Regions from separate parts of the Homo sapiens genome. Here all the other regions are linked to region 1. Evidence: promoter capture Hi-C in human tissues and cell types (Jung and others, 2019). All regions are on one chromosome and are shown on one strand. Each heading gives the region's core, a stretch centred on a gene start or on the middle of the fragment in contact. The rest is flanking DNA. Distances are from core to core; before and after follow the strand shown.

The links. The method cuts DNA at HindIII sites, captures the fragments that hold promoters and counts their contacts. A contact is called where the count stands out against the background at its distance.
Region 2: a fragment that was not itself captured here is called in contact with the fragment with the promoter of PRELID2 in region 1 in 1 of the 25 tissues and cell types used here (dorsolateral prefrontal cortex).
Region 3: a fragment that was not itself captured here is called in contact with the fragment with the promoter of PRELID2 in region 1 in 1 of the 25 tissues and cell types used here (mesenchymal stem cells).

What each region holds. Positions count from the first base shown.
Region 1 is chr5:145,834,092-145,838,460 of GRCh38, forward strand. PRELID2 (PRELI domain containing 2) reads right to left here and starts at 1,251. Exons shown (of 7, transcript NM_205846.3): 1 at 1,086-1,251. The coding sequence starts at 1,160. RefSeq lists a silencer at 1,443-1,562. The HindIII fragment of the contact is 8,273 bases long and covers 1-4,369 here.
Region 2 is chr5:145,238,649-145,243,017 of GRCh38, forward strand. It overlaps a transcript of PRELID2 not described here. Among named protein-coding and RNA genes, the nearest start is that of PRELID2, 590 kb to the right of the region's middle. The HindIII fragment of the contact is 4,775 bases long and covers 1-4,293 here.
Region 3 is chr5:146,410,906-146,415,274 of GRCh38, forward strand. No RefSeq gene overlaps it. Among named protein-coding and RNA genes, the nearest start is that of TCERG1, 34 kb to the right of the region's middle. The HindIII fragment of the contact is 4,106 bases long and covers 1-3,867 here.

The DNA of each region.
Region 1 (4,369 bases), core at 1-2,500:
TCAGTATTGAGGAAGAGTTCATTATCTGTATTGAAATCGGTTGTAGTAATACAAACAACAATAACATTTTAGAGCCCTAACTAAACATCAGTAGCAGTGAGAAAAAGAAAAATAGCTCAGAGCAGATTGTGTGAGTTACAGTGAAATATGCAAAATCAATCAAGCCCAGAGAGACAAGAGTATAGGACTTTAGTGGTCCCCTCCTCACCCAACCCATTCCTGGGAGCAACTGGTTAAAGGCATTTTGTTCCTGACCAGCTGCCTTACCCATTATCTTCAAGTTCCTGGAATTTGTGATACAAAGAACAATGTACAGACAATCAATAGTTTATGTTATTTTAATATAAATTCTTGGTAAACAACTTAGGAAGTGCTTCTTATTCTCCTTTAAAAACCCACTTTCGACTTCTGCTCATCAGAATGTATACTCAGGGCACCTTCACTCCCAGGATGCAGCCCTCAAACTTGGCTCGAATGAACTCTCTTTTTATATTGATTTTGCCTCAGTTTCTTCATTTAGGTCACAACTGTGCTAAGCACTTTACACAAGTTACCTCATTTGGATCCTCACAACAACTCTATGAGTCGGTACTATTATTTTCCCCATTTTACAGATTAGCAAACTAAGGCACAAAGAGAGTAAGCAACCTGCACGATGTCCCACAGCTGTTTAATAAGGAGCAGCGGATGGGGCAGCAGAACCATCATGCTGAGTAAACCAGGATGACTGCCCAATGGCCTCCCCTCGCTTTTAAGGGGTCAGTGATGAACCGGAAAGCTCCACACGTCGGTCATCTGCAACTCCACGGAGCTCACGAGCTGGGATTCCCGGAGGCTCTTCCTAAAAGGAAAGCCTCTTCTTTCAGCTGGGGCAGGTGTGAACGTGATGCCAAGCACGGCCCCTTTTCCCGCTCCCTGTAAAGGGAGTCTTCGAGGAAATCCCTCTCGACCCACACATCCCTGAAGCAAAGCCCGCAGCTGGAAAGAGACACTGGCGGTGCCAGCTTCCGCGTGGATGAAGGAGAGGAGAGAGGGGCAAGCAGCGGAGGCAGCGCGGGATACGGAAGGTGGAAGCGGGGCGGTACCTTTCGGAGAAAGCTGGCGACCACCTGCTCGAAGGGGTACTTGTACACCTGGTGCACATCCACCGAGACCCCCATCCCCGCGCGCCGCGGGCCCCGCGCACCGGCCACGCCTCCGCGAGCTCAGAGCTGCCCAGGGCTCCGCAGAGGCCCGGAGGCGCCCACACTCGGACAGCCACATGGGCGTGGCCTTTTTCCTCCGCTTTTCAAACTTTCGAAACTTTATTGGCCACTCGGAGAAACGCGCAGTCGGCCACGCCCACGCCCCTACTGCCAGAGTCCGGGGCCTGGGGTTACAGAGCGCGGGAGGCGCTGGAGCGCTCCCAGAGCACCCGGGGCCCCGCGGTCTCCACGCTGGCGGCGCCAGAGCGGCCCTGGTGCCCTCCCGCGGCCGCGCCTGCCGAGAAAAGCTTCTCTGCCTGGGAGCCATCACGCCCCGCCCCAGGAAACCTGGACCTTGGGCTTATGCGTTTATGGTATCACCGCCTGGAGTCACAGAATAAGCCGTGGTTGGCAGCACGGGAAAAAAGTATTAATAAGGAAGGCCTGGTGTGACAAAGGCCAGCATTACTCATGCCACCAGGCAGCTGCCTCTGAGGCTTGGGTTTGGGCCTCGTGTAAGGTAAAGATTGCCTCGGGAATAAGAACCGCGTTTTAGTGCACCAAAACCTGCAGGTAAGTTCCTTTGCTCGCTAAGGTTAAACACCACGGAGCAAGGAACTAGAGGATACAAAAGAGTTGCGAGTATTATTATTTACTGCAACCAACAGATGTTAGGAGAACCAGCACGTTAATCCGTGTATTCAGCACGGTTCTGAGGCCTCCTATGCCCCAGCGCTGTAGTGGGCACTGCGGATTCCGCAGGGAGGAAACACCAGCTCTGCTGATGAGCCGGCTGATTTCACACCCAATCAACAAGCTGGGAAAATAAAAACAATAATCGGTTAAAGTGACACGGGCGCGGACATGATTTTAGTGAGGGTGATTATGGAGGGTCTCTGAGGTGATGACTTTTACGATTTTGCCATCTCGCTCGCCCCTGCCATACGCAGTCACACTGGTCTGGCAAAACCCTAGCCTTGTGTAAATCTAGGTCTCCTCTGACTGTCTCTACCCAAGCCACCAGAAGGGGCTGAAGGAAAATACACACCCACTGTGCATCTTTTAAGTTCATAACCACTAACCCTATGGCGCCTTTTAATGGTGCCAGACAAATACACTATGAAAGTACTGTATTTCTGGCTGGGTGCGGTGACTCACGCCTGTAATCCCAGCACTTTGGGAGGCCAAGGTGGGCGGATCGCCTGAGGTCCGGAGTTCCAGACCAGCCTGGCCAACATGGTGAAACCCTGTCCCTACTAAAAATACAAAAATTAGCCAGGCGTGATGGCGGGCGCCTGTAGTCCCAGCTACTCCGGAGGCTGAGGCAGGAGAATCGCTTGAACCCGGGAGACGGAGGTTGCAGTGAGCAGAGCTCGCCCATTGCACTCCAGCCTAGGCGACAAGAGCAAGACTCCATCTCAAAAAAAAAAAAAAAAGAGAGTACTGAATTTCTCTAATCCACTTACTCTCCCGCATTCCTCCACACCTCTGACACCTTTGTTCCCAGCCTTATACTCCAGTCATTACCTTACTTCCATTTTCACTTAGTCAATAGGTCACATCGCTCTGCCACCTCTCTACCCACCAGACCAAATGCCTTGCCTTCACTCTTGTTCCTGTGGGTGAACTGTCAGCACTTTGTTTTAGCACCAGTGTCTCCATTTGTCCACTGAATCCTGAGGTGAACTGAAAAATGTTTAACAAATAGCTGTCCTTTAAAGTATAAATCAAGCAAGGCCCTGATTTCCAAAGGTTGCTGATTCCTGTGGTGTAAATACTCCTACCATGTTTAAAGATGCCAACTCGATGTCACTAAACACAAGTTGGGGATTTAGCAACATGGAGTTGAGTGAGGAGTGGGAGTTGGGGAGGGAAGCACAGAAGCACACCATCACATAGTATTTCCACCACCCACATACGACAGCCATAAAGAACCAAAAACATAAATAATGGAAAATGTAGCAGGAAGGGATGAGTTTTCAATGTTTATTACTCTTTGGCCAGGCTCCTATGGTTCATGCCTGTAACCTCAGCACTTTGGGAGGCCAAGGCAGAAGGATCACTTGAGGCCAAGAGTTTGAGGCCAGTGTAGGCAACATAGTGAAACCCCATCTCTACAAAAAATAAAATAAAAAATTAGCCAGGTGTGGCAGTGCACACCTGTAGTCCTAGCTACTTGAGAGGCTAAGGCCAGAGGCTCTATTAAATCCGGAAGTTCAAGGCTGTAGTGAACTATGATCGTGCCATGCACTCCAGCCTGGGCCACAGAGTGAGACCCATCTCAAATAAATAAATATTTATTAATTTTTATATGTGATTGTAAATTTATATACTTTAATAATAGCTGTGTTGAATGGCCAGCTCTAGTACATCACTAAAAGTTCCTGTCCTCTTTCTTGTTCAAGGCCATCTCTCTAGCAATATCCCCCTTCCTTTCTGTATCATCAGCTTTTGTCTCTACTGGGCCATTCCAGCCAGCACAACAAGTACACTGTAATTTCTTCCATCTAAAAACAAAAACAGAAACAATACAAAAAAAACAACTCTTAACCCCCTATCTTCCTCCAGCTGTATTCCGAGTCTCTGGTCCACTGATGCTCCTCAAAAGAGCTGCCTGTAATCTCTTGAGCCCATTCCAATCAGTATTTGCCCCCACCACTTCACCGAAACGACTGTTGTCAAGGTCACCAATGACCAAATTGCTAAATCCAATAATTAATTCTTAATCCCCACCTTACTAAGCCTGTAAGCAGCATTTCCTTGAAATACAGAGGGAGGAGTGGAGAGGAGAATGAGATGCAAATGCTCTTACATGTGTTGGATGCATGTTTAAAAGCCACTCCACTATATCACCAATCCCTCCTTACAGGAAAACAAAAAGCAGTCTTCCAGGGAGACTACACAGGTCCACAAAGGAGAGATCAATTACCTGCAGAGTTTATGGTATTTTGTATCTGCCTCTTTTACCAGAGTAGCTGGAGACCAGATGTGACATACAAACCCCCTGCTAGCGTAGGTCCTGGGCCCTGTATCCTCAATCCACTCTGACCATCAGTTTCTCCCAGAGTGTATCTTTAAGCAGGACTTAATCTCCGGATTAAGTAACCATGAAAGGCCAATGGTGTGTCCTGAAAGATTAAAGGCCCCACCACCTGCAACCTCTACTTGGGGCTGGTTGGCTGAGT
Region 2 (4,369 bases), core at 656-3,155, 590 kb before region 1:
AGCTACACCCACATCTGACTACTCTGTTACTTTATATTCCCACCTTGTGAAAGGTCTCCCCTGTTATGTCCCCACTATCCTATAAATGAACCTCATATTACCACAATCCATACATTTCTAAGAATGAAGTGATTAAAATTACTTAGGACACTTCATATGCAAATGAAAGCCTACACAAAACTACTTTCCTTCAATAAAGAAGTCACGTAATTATCTGAATCATCAATTATCTAAATCATCACTTATTTACCTGCTTTATTGAGCTAATTTCCTAATACTAGTTTATATTAAATAATGTGTGGGTATCTATCTGTCTCTATCTATCTATCTATCTATCTGTCTATCTATCTATCTAACACACACACATTAATGTGAATTTTTCAGTGACATACAGTTAAACATCTGAAGCATTTTTTCTGGGACTATGTGCACTGTCTCAGTAAGAGTATGAGCTCTACGAGGGCAAGTACTAATTTTAAAATTGTGCTATAATCTTCTAATCCGAACTGTAATTTCTTCAGCTATCTCATTAAATGTTTATGACTGACCAATGATTCCTCCTCTTGTCTAGCTATTCTCTAGCAATTCCTTTGAAAGAAATACTAATGAGCAATTAAATGTTAAAAAGGGGCAAAAGAATGAGGAGTGGATTTTCCCAGAAGGTAATTATGAGTGCCTACCATGTTCCAGGAATCACTTGGAGTGATGAGAGGACATAGTCTCTGGTCTCAAGGATATTGTCTCCTGGGATAAACAGACAATTACAGCACAGTATTCTGGGTCAGCAGAGGCCCAGAGGTATCCTACACTTAGACAAAAGGCAAAAATGACTGACTGCTGAGGTCTCTAATTACTGAGATTCCTCCTGAAGTGATGGTAAATGCTATAATGCAATTATAATAAATATAATGCAATTACAATAAATGTCTGTTGAATTGAATTAAATCAAATTGATGCCTCGCTCTCCAGAAGCTCAAATATACACCATGAAAAATGGAAATGCCATTATTTAAAAAGAAATTCAAGGCCTCCTAGTAAGTTATCCATGGAGATATTTCAGAAGATTTTTAACCCATAAGAGTCCTTAAGAAATTCTATAAGCTTCTGCCCTACTCAAGTGGCCCTCTCATCTGATGAATGGACCCTTATAGAAGCTTCTTTAGAATATTCTCAGACATTTGAGGTAAGGTCCTGGCAAAATGAGAATGGTTTTTCTGCCACTGAATAACTTAAGGATGATAATGACAACTAAATGTGATTGATAGCAGCCACAATTTGTGCTAAATTATTTCATATAAAAATATGGCCCCCAGCAAAGCATATCGTTGAATGCTGTTTTCTCAGAATTTGGTACATCTTTTGCCTCTTTTCTCCCTCCTAAATAAGTTCTTTGACAACAAGGTTGCGTCTTTCTTGTTGATAATAGGATGAATGAGCATATGATAATTGAATGCATGAAAATGAATTTAATAGATGGTTCCTCATAATGGTCTGACGTTTTATGGCATTTATAAATGGGTACATCTCACTGGCACTCTCTACATTGAGCAAATGTATTTTCTTTTTAATTTTCACTTTCTGCTTTATTGCTTTCTTTTTTTCATCAGACAGGGAAAGCATGCTTTTATAGAAGTATTAGAAAATAAAAATAAGCAAAGTTTTTAAAACCAAAGATTTCACCACCTAGCATTAACCAATATTAACATTTTGTTTCTGTCTTTTCCAAGGTTTTCCTATACAAATATACACTTTTTAAACAAAAATATTTTTTTCTGATATATACAATATTTTGTAATTTACATATTTATAAATAGTAAATAAACATACTTTATAAGTATCCATGTGCATCCTCATCTTTAGTAGTTACAAAATAATCCATTGTGTATATCTCAACATTTATTGAAACTATACTTATTATCAGGCAGCTGGGTTGTTTCCACATTTTTGCTATTTTAAACAACATTATAATAAATGTCTTTCTACGTACAACTTCTTGTATTTATTTGAGGGTTTCTTTAAAAACCGGTAGAATTGCTGGGCCAAAGGGCAAATCCCATTTTAAAGGCTCCTGTTGCTTATGACTGAATTTCATACTATAACTGCTTTATACCACCACTGTGTCAATCCTAGGTGTTATGATCTTATAAGCTTAGATGACATATAAAAAAATTAACATGTTTGTTTCCTACATTTAGTGAATATTATAGTGATTCCATAAACCTTGTTTATGTGTATAAAAGCAGAATGTGTAATGATTTCGAAGCTGGTTTCTCAAGCCAGATTATTTGATCTCCTATGCTGGCTCAGCTGTTCACTAGCTCTATGACTCAAACAGGTTAAAGAGCTTCCTTGGGTGGGCTTCAGCGTCCTCATCTGGAATATGATATAATTAAAGTATCAATCTCTTAGGGTTGTTCTCAGAATTAAGTGATTTGACCCATAAAGTGGACACAGAACAGTACCTGGCACAGGTAAGCATTCAATAAATGCTACTTGTTCTCTTGTTTCTAGGAACACAACTAAATTAATTTTTCAGCCTTTCTTGCAATTAGATACATCTATGAGACTAGACTGTAAGATAAATTGATGTGTGTCATTTACTGGTCTGGCTCATAAATACCTTGAAGACACGATTCTCATTCATTTCCTTGTCAACCAGCAGAATAGAGATCACCCAAAGGACCTAGAGCAGGTGGAATCACAAGATAAAAGGAGCCTGGATGTATAAATGACTATGGAAGAGAGCTCCACCACCACCAACCACATGCAACCATCATTCACCAATGAGAAATAAATGTATATCGCATTGCATTTTACATGTTTCGTTGCTCTTGTCATAGCACTCAGCCTTTCTTGACTAATAGAATTGCCTATTGTTATTCCTTTATCACATATTATCTGTTTTTTAAAAAGAGAGAATTTTATTTCAAAATATGAAGAATGGAGAGGCGTAAAAAGTTCAGGACTTGAAATCCACTGTAGAAAATCTACACCTTGATAATATATGAGTCCATGGGTCATTTATCTATCTAGAATGTATATTATCCCACATCTTTGTTTCTTTATATTCCACATTCTGGCTCCAGGCTACAGAGGTTAATTTCAATACAGCTAAATGTATTTATTCAGCTTACAGACACAGATTCCTCATATTCCCTCTTACACTGACCAGTGAACATCGTTTTCTTACATTTACTAAATCACTTAGGCCATAAATACCAAAGTACCAGCTGAGAAAATCCAGGAGGAAACATTCTTTGGGAAAAAGAGAACTATTCAAAAGAAATGCTATTGCATAAAAAAAAAAGTTCCCCATAATGGTTCTGCAGTTCTGAAATGTCTACAGGAAAGTCATACCAAACAGGAATATATTTCCCAAGTTTTCCCCTTGAAGATCCTAGACATGAAAGAAAAATGCTCAATTTGAAGCATTGTTCATTTTGCAAAAAATATTATTTGTTACCAAAGGAAGGGAAAAGTAGAAGGATACCAAAAATGATTTTATATGTGTGTGTGAATATATATATACATATATGAAATTTTATGAGCTTTCAAGCAAAAAATTTATTCAAATATAAACCATGAAACACTTTCCACATGGTTTACTTTCTAAGGTTAGAACTTCCAACTGAAACTAGCTGGAATATTTTTCAGAGTGTTTTGAGTCTCCAGGGACCATAAGACATTAAATAACACTATCAAATGAATCTTTCTAAATATAGAGTTAAATGGCTCTCCCCTTACATTTGCATCATGCTCCACAATGAGTTTTCTGTGTAGGAAGGTATTATCATTCCCATCCCACAGGAGGGGATACTGTAATTCAGAGATATTAAAGGGTCTGTCCAAGGTTATCCGGATAGTGCTACAAGGCAATCCAAGTAATCCTCCACTAAGTAATCTGCAGACTTCAGTTTTCACATATGAATTTTCTAAAAATGTTCAAAGTGACAGCTACAATCAAGTTAATCAATGTAACAGTTACAGATGTGTCTATGAGAGAAAAAGGTAACCAATAGGATGCATTTGACCTAATCCCAGCTTGCATCATAGAAAAGAACAACTAAATAACCTGTGGGCAGTAGGTTAAACCCTAATCCGATAATTCCAGTGCAAATGCCAGAAATGTAAAATGTTTATCATTCCCCACCCTAAAAGCATACTTGTTTCAGGAAACAGTAAATAAAACAAATGTCTAGGCTAATAAAGTGATTTATAGCTTTTAGTGGTATGATTTAACCACCATATGTGTTCTTGAGAGACAGCTATATAACAAATATTTATATACATATTTAAATACCATTTCCCATTTATTTTCATTATTCTATTTGAAGTATAATTCTTTAGAAAGAGAAGAGTGGCTAAGAGA
Region 3 (4,369 bases), core at 565-3,064, 580 kb after region 1:
AAGCCAAGAGGAATCAATGCATAATGGTGGAGTTTCAGGCTGCATGAATTGGGGTAGAGGGACAGATATTATCCAGCAGAGGCATTGCATTTATAAAGAACATTTCCTAGTGATCTGTCAGCCTTTAACAGGCAGTCCCATTTCCGAGTAGGTATAGTAAATGTCCACTTGATTCTGCTTTGACAATGTTTGTGCAAGTAACTTTGCCCTTCTATGCCTCAGTTTCCTTAGCTCAGTATGAGAAATTAACTCATACAGGTGCCGTGAGCTACTGTATAAAAAGTACTTTGCTCAGTGCCCAACATATAATAAACATTAACTAAACAGCAGTTCTTACAAGCACTAATTATAAAATTAACATATGCTCAGTCAGACCTACCCCTAAATTTGTGGGCCTAGAGTTTGTTAACTTTTTTGTTAACAAACAAGCCAACAGACTGTTAAAAAAAAATGTGGTGTATCCTTCTACTTTTGAAACAAAGTTGAGAACTATTTTTCATATGACTGAATATCAGCAAATTTTAAAGTTGACTGATCTTTAATTTTCTGTACATAACTGGCAGTTCTGTTGTTTGGCTGATGTTTGGATGCGTAATAACAAAGGCATACATAATTCATACATGACTATATATTTGCTATATAAAAATTATTTTTTCTTGTCTTCATTTTAGCAAAATTACAGTTACGTTCTTCCAATCAGGATTTTTACATAATTTATGTTCAAAGATAGTAATGCCAAATTCAACACCCTTTCTTAGCCATTGTATTCTTATTTTTAAATTAATTTCATCATGGAGAAAACTTGCTGTTAAGTCAATAGCAACTGAAATTGTCAAAGTTATTGTAACATTTACATTCAGAAATTGGCAATGGATTTTACATATAAAGTTCAAATACTATCATGGGGTCTTAAATTGTTGTTACGATAGAAAATACTACAAAAAATTTTAATTTCATAATATAAATCTATCACTTACATTGCAATTTTTACCTTCTCTAAAAACAATATCCAGATCCAGAAAATATTTTGGTAAGTTTTTTTTTATTTTTAATAAACCTAAAGTGATCTCAACAGATATTAGTTTGGGGATTATTTGTATGTGCATATTCTCTTTTATAGTGATGCAAACATTTTTGTTTACTTGTTCTGATTTTCTCATATTTTATAGAAATGTCACATTTGTTACATATTTTACATGCAGTTTATTTCAATTTAGAGTAACTATTTTCTCTCTATAAAAAAATTTAATCGTAAAAAGGCAAAACAGCCAAACTCATTATTTGGTTCCAGTTTTTAGAATTTCTGCAAGCTTTTGCTAACATCATTAAAAACAACAGTTTCTACCAAATAACCATAGATAGTGCAGATTCAGAAATAATTTTCTGCCAAAGATCATGATTCCTTCCTTAGCAAAGTAATGCAGGAACAGAAAACCAAATACCACATGTTCTCACTTATAAGTCGGAACTAAATGATGAGAACTCATGAACACAAAGAAGGAAACAACAGGCACTGGGGTCTACTTGGGGGTGGGGGGAGTGGGGAGGGGAAGGGGCAGAAAAGATAACTGTTGGGTGCCGAGCTTAATATCTGGGTGATGTAGTAATATGTACAACCAACCCCTGTGACACGTTTATCTATGTAACAAACCTTCACATGTATGCTCAAACCTAAAATTAAAATTCTAAAAAAAGATCATGATCCTTTTTTTTTTTTTTTTTTTTTTTTTTTTTGAGATGGAGTCTTGCCGTGTCACCCAGGCTGGAGTGCAGTGGCACGATCTCGGCTCACTGCAACCTCTGCCTCCCAGGTTCAAGCGAGTCGCCTGCTTCAGGCTTCCGAGTAGCTGGAACTACAGGCGCCCACCACCACACCCGGCTAATTTTTGTATTTTTAGTAGCGACGGGGTGTCACCATACTGGCCAGGCTGGTCTCAAACTCCTGACCTCGTGATCCGCCCGCCTCGGCCTCCCAAAGTGCTGGGATTACAGGTGTGAGCCACCGTACCCGGCCATGATTCTTTTTATTTAAGGATTATCTTTTATTTCTCATACTCTTCCAGTGCATCTTGTTATCTGGTGTAAATAAAATTTTGTTGTTTTAATAGCTTTTAGTCAGCATTCCCTTTGTGTGTCCAAAAGTGTTTTAGTGACAAACATATAACAGCTTTTTCAAGTTGTTTCATCTTTGGACAGATACAGAAAATATCCTATGTAGTTGTTTAATTGTTCTGAAGATGCAATCACCCATTTGACACAGCTGAGAACATGTCCCTTAATAAGAAATTCAAACTATGTATCACACATGCCTCATAATAAATGCTTGTTCCTTACCAACTGCCATTATCATTAGCTTGCCATCATTATTCTTTTAAATCAATGTCTAAAATTCAAAATTGTATTTTCAATTCTACTTTTTACAATAGGTATAAAATCAATAACATACACAATTTTGACTTCAATTTTTATCATCTGATGAACTATCAGATGCAAGTGTGGCCTGCCCACCATCATCAGATGATGGTACATCAGAAGATAAATATTAGTTGCTCAATATGATTTTGTCCTAACATAATTTACGTAAATTAGTTACTATTAATTTAAAAATTGTATCTCTAATATCTTTTATCACATTTAATAGTATTTTGAATTCTCCATTTAAAGAAATATGATCTTTTAAAATTCAATTTTGTTTTTTTTTGAGACAGGGTCTCGAGAGCTCTGTTGCCCAGGTTGTAGTGCAGTGGCTCAGTCTCGGCTCACTGCAACCTCTGCTTCCCAGGTTCAAGCAATCCTCCTGCCTCAGCCTCCCTAGTAGCTGGGACTACAGGTGCATGCCACCATGCCCAGCTAATTTTTTTGTATTTTTAGTGGAGACGGGGTTTTGCCATGTTGGCCAGGCTGGTCTCGAGCTCCTGACCTCAGGTCTTCCGCTCGCCATGGCCTCCCAAAGTGCTGGGATTACAGGCCTGAGCCACTGCGCTGGGCCTAAAATTCATTTTTATCTATGTTATATGCTTGGCTATTTTGGCATCACATTTGAAAGTTATTTTTTCTACTAGACTAGAACATTTCCATTGTTTTCTATGAATATCGCACTGTTGCTGTTCCACACAAGCTTGCCTAAGTATGGCACATCTAATACTGTTTTCTTAAGAATATCACAGCGATATTGTATATTTGTATTTGCTTGTTTATTTGTTGAATACTGTTAATCATTTGTGTTGTTTCAGGCTTTTTTTTTTCCATTCTAGTATTTGCGTGTGCATTTTTTGGGGTCGGGGTCAAATAACATTTTGTATTCTTTTAATTGAGAACCTAAGTATTTCCAGTCACAGATTCTTTCACTGGACAAAGCTGACTGTGAAGACAGACTGAAATATGTAATAATAGTAACAAAATATTTTGTCTTTTGACTTAGAATATTAAAAAAGTTTCTACAGTTTCTCCATTGGGAAAAAAACTTACAATAATACAAAATATTAACTTTTCTGCCAAGTTTATTCAAGGAAAAATTTATAACCAATAATTTAAATCAACTTACATTTTTCTGGAAATGTTCTCAGATTTCAGAAAGCTGTGACAAACTTTTCTAGGATCACCTTCCAATAAACAGTAAAGAAGCAAAAAGTTTTTAATCTTTCTTGTCAAATTTGCCAATTTCCCCATAATTTCTTTATCATCTAATGGGCAGACCCACTTGCACTCGTTTCTTTTGAGTTGTGAATTTGATATAAAAATATCTTTTTCATTGTCTTATTTTAATCATGAAAGAAACTTCATGTAAAGAACATGAAGTTACAGGTGTTTGATCTGATCTATTCAAGTTGTGGACTTACTCAGAATACTTTTCTTATTTTCATTGTTTTGCTCAGTAACTAAATCTTCACTGAACAGGGAATTTGTAATGTTTGTTTATGAATTGTATGTGGGCCATGCTCAGGAGTTCGCAATTTAAACAAATTACAGCTGACCACCTTGGTGAATATGTTTGTTTTTCTTTTCTATCCTTATTTTTCTGAGCTTCACTTTCATATTTTGTAGGTCTAGCACAATCTTAACTTGTTCTCATTCTTGGTCAGCTAAAGAATTAAGATAAGCAGCCATAAAAAATGATGAGTTCATGTCCTTTGTAGGGACATGGATGAAGCTGGAAACCATCATTCTCAGCAAACTATCACAAGGACAAAAAACCAAACACCGCATGTTCTCACTCGTAGGTGGGAATTGAACAATGAGAACACATGGACACAGGAAGGGGAACATCACACACCGGGGTCTGTTGTGGGGTGGGGGGAGTGGGGAGGGATAGCATTAGGAGATATACCTAATGTTAAATGATGAGTTAATGGGTGCAGCACACCAACAT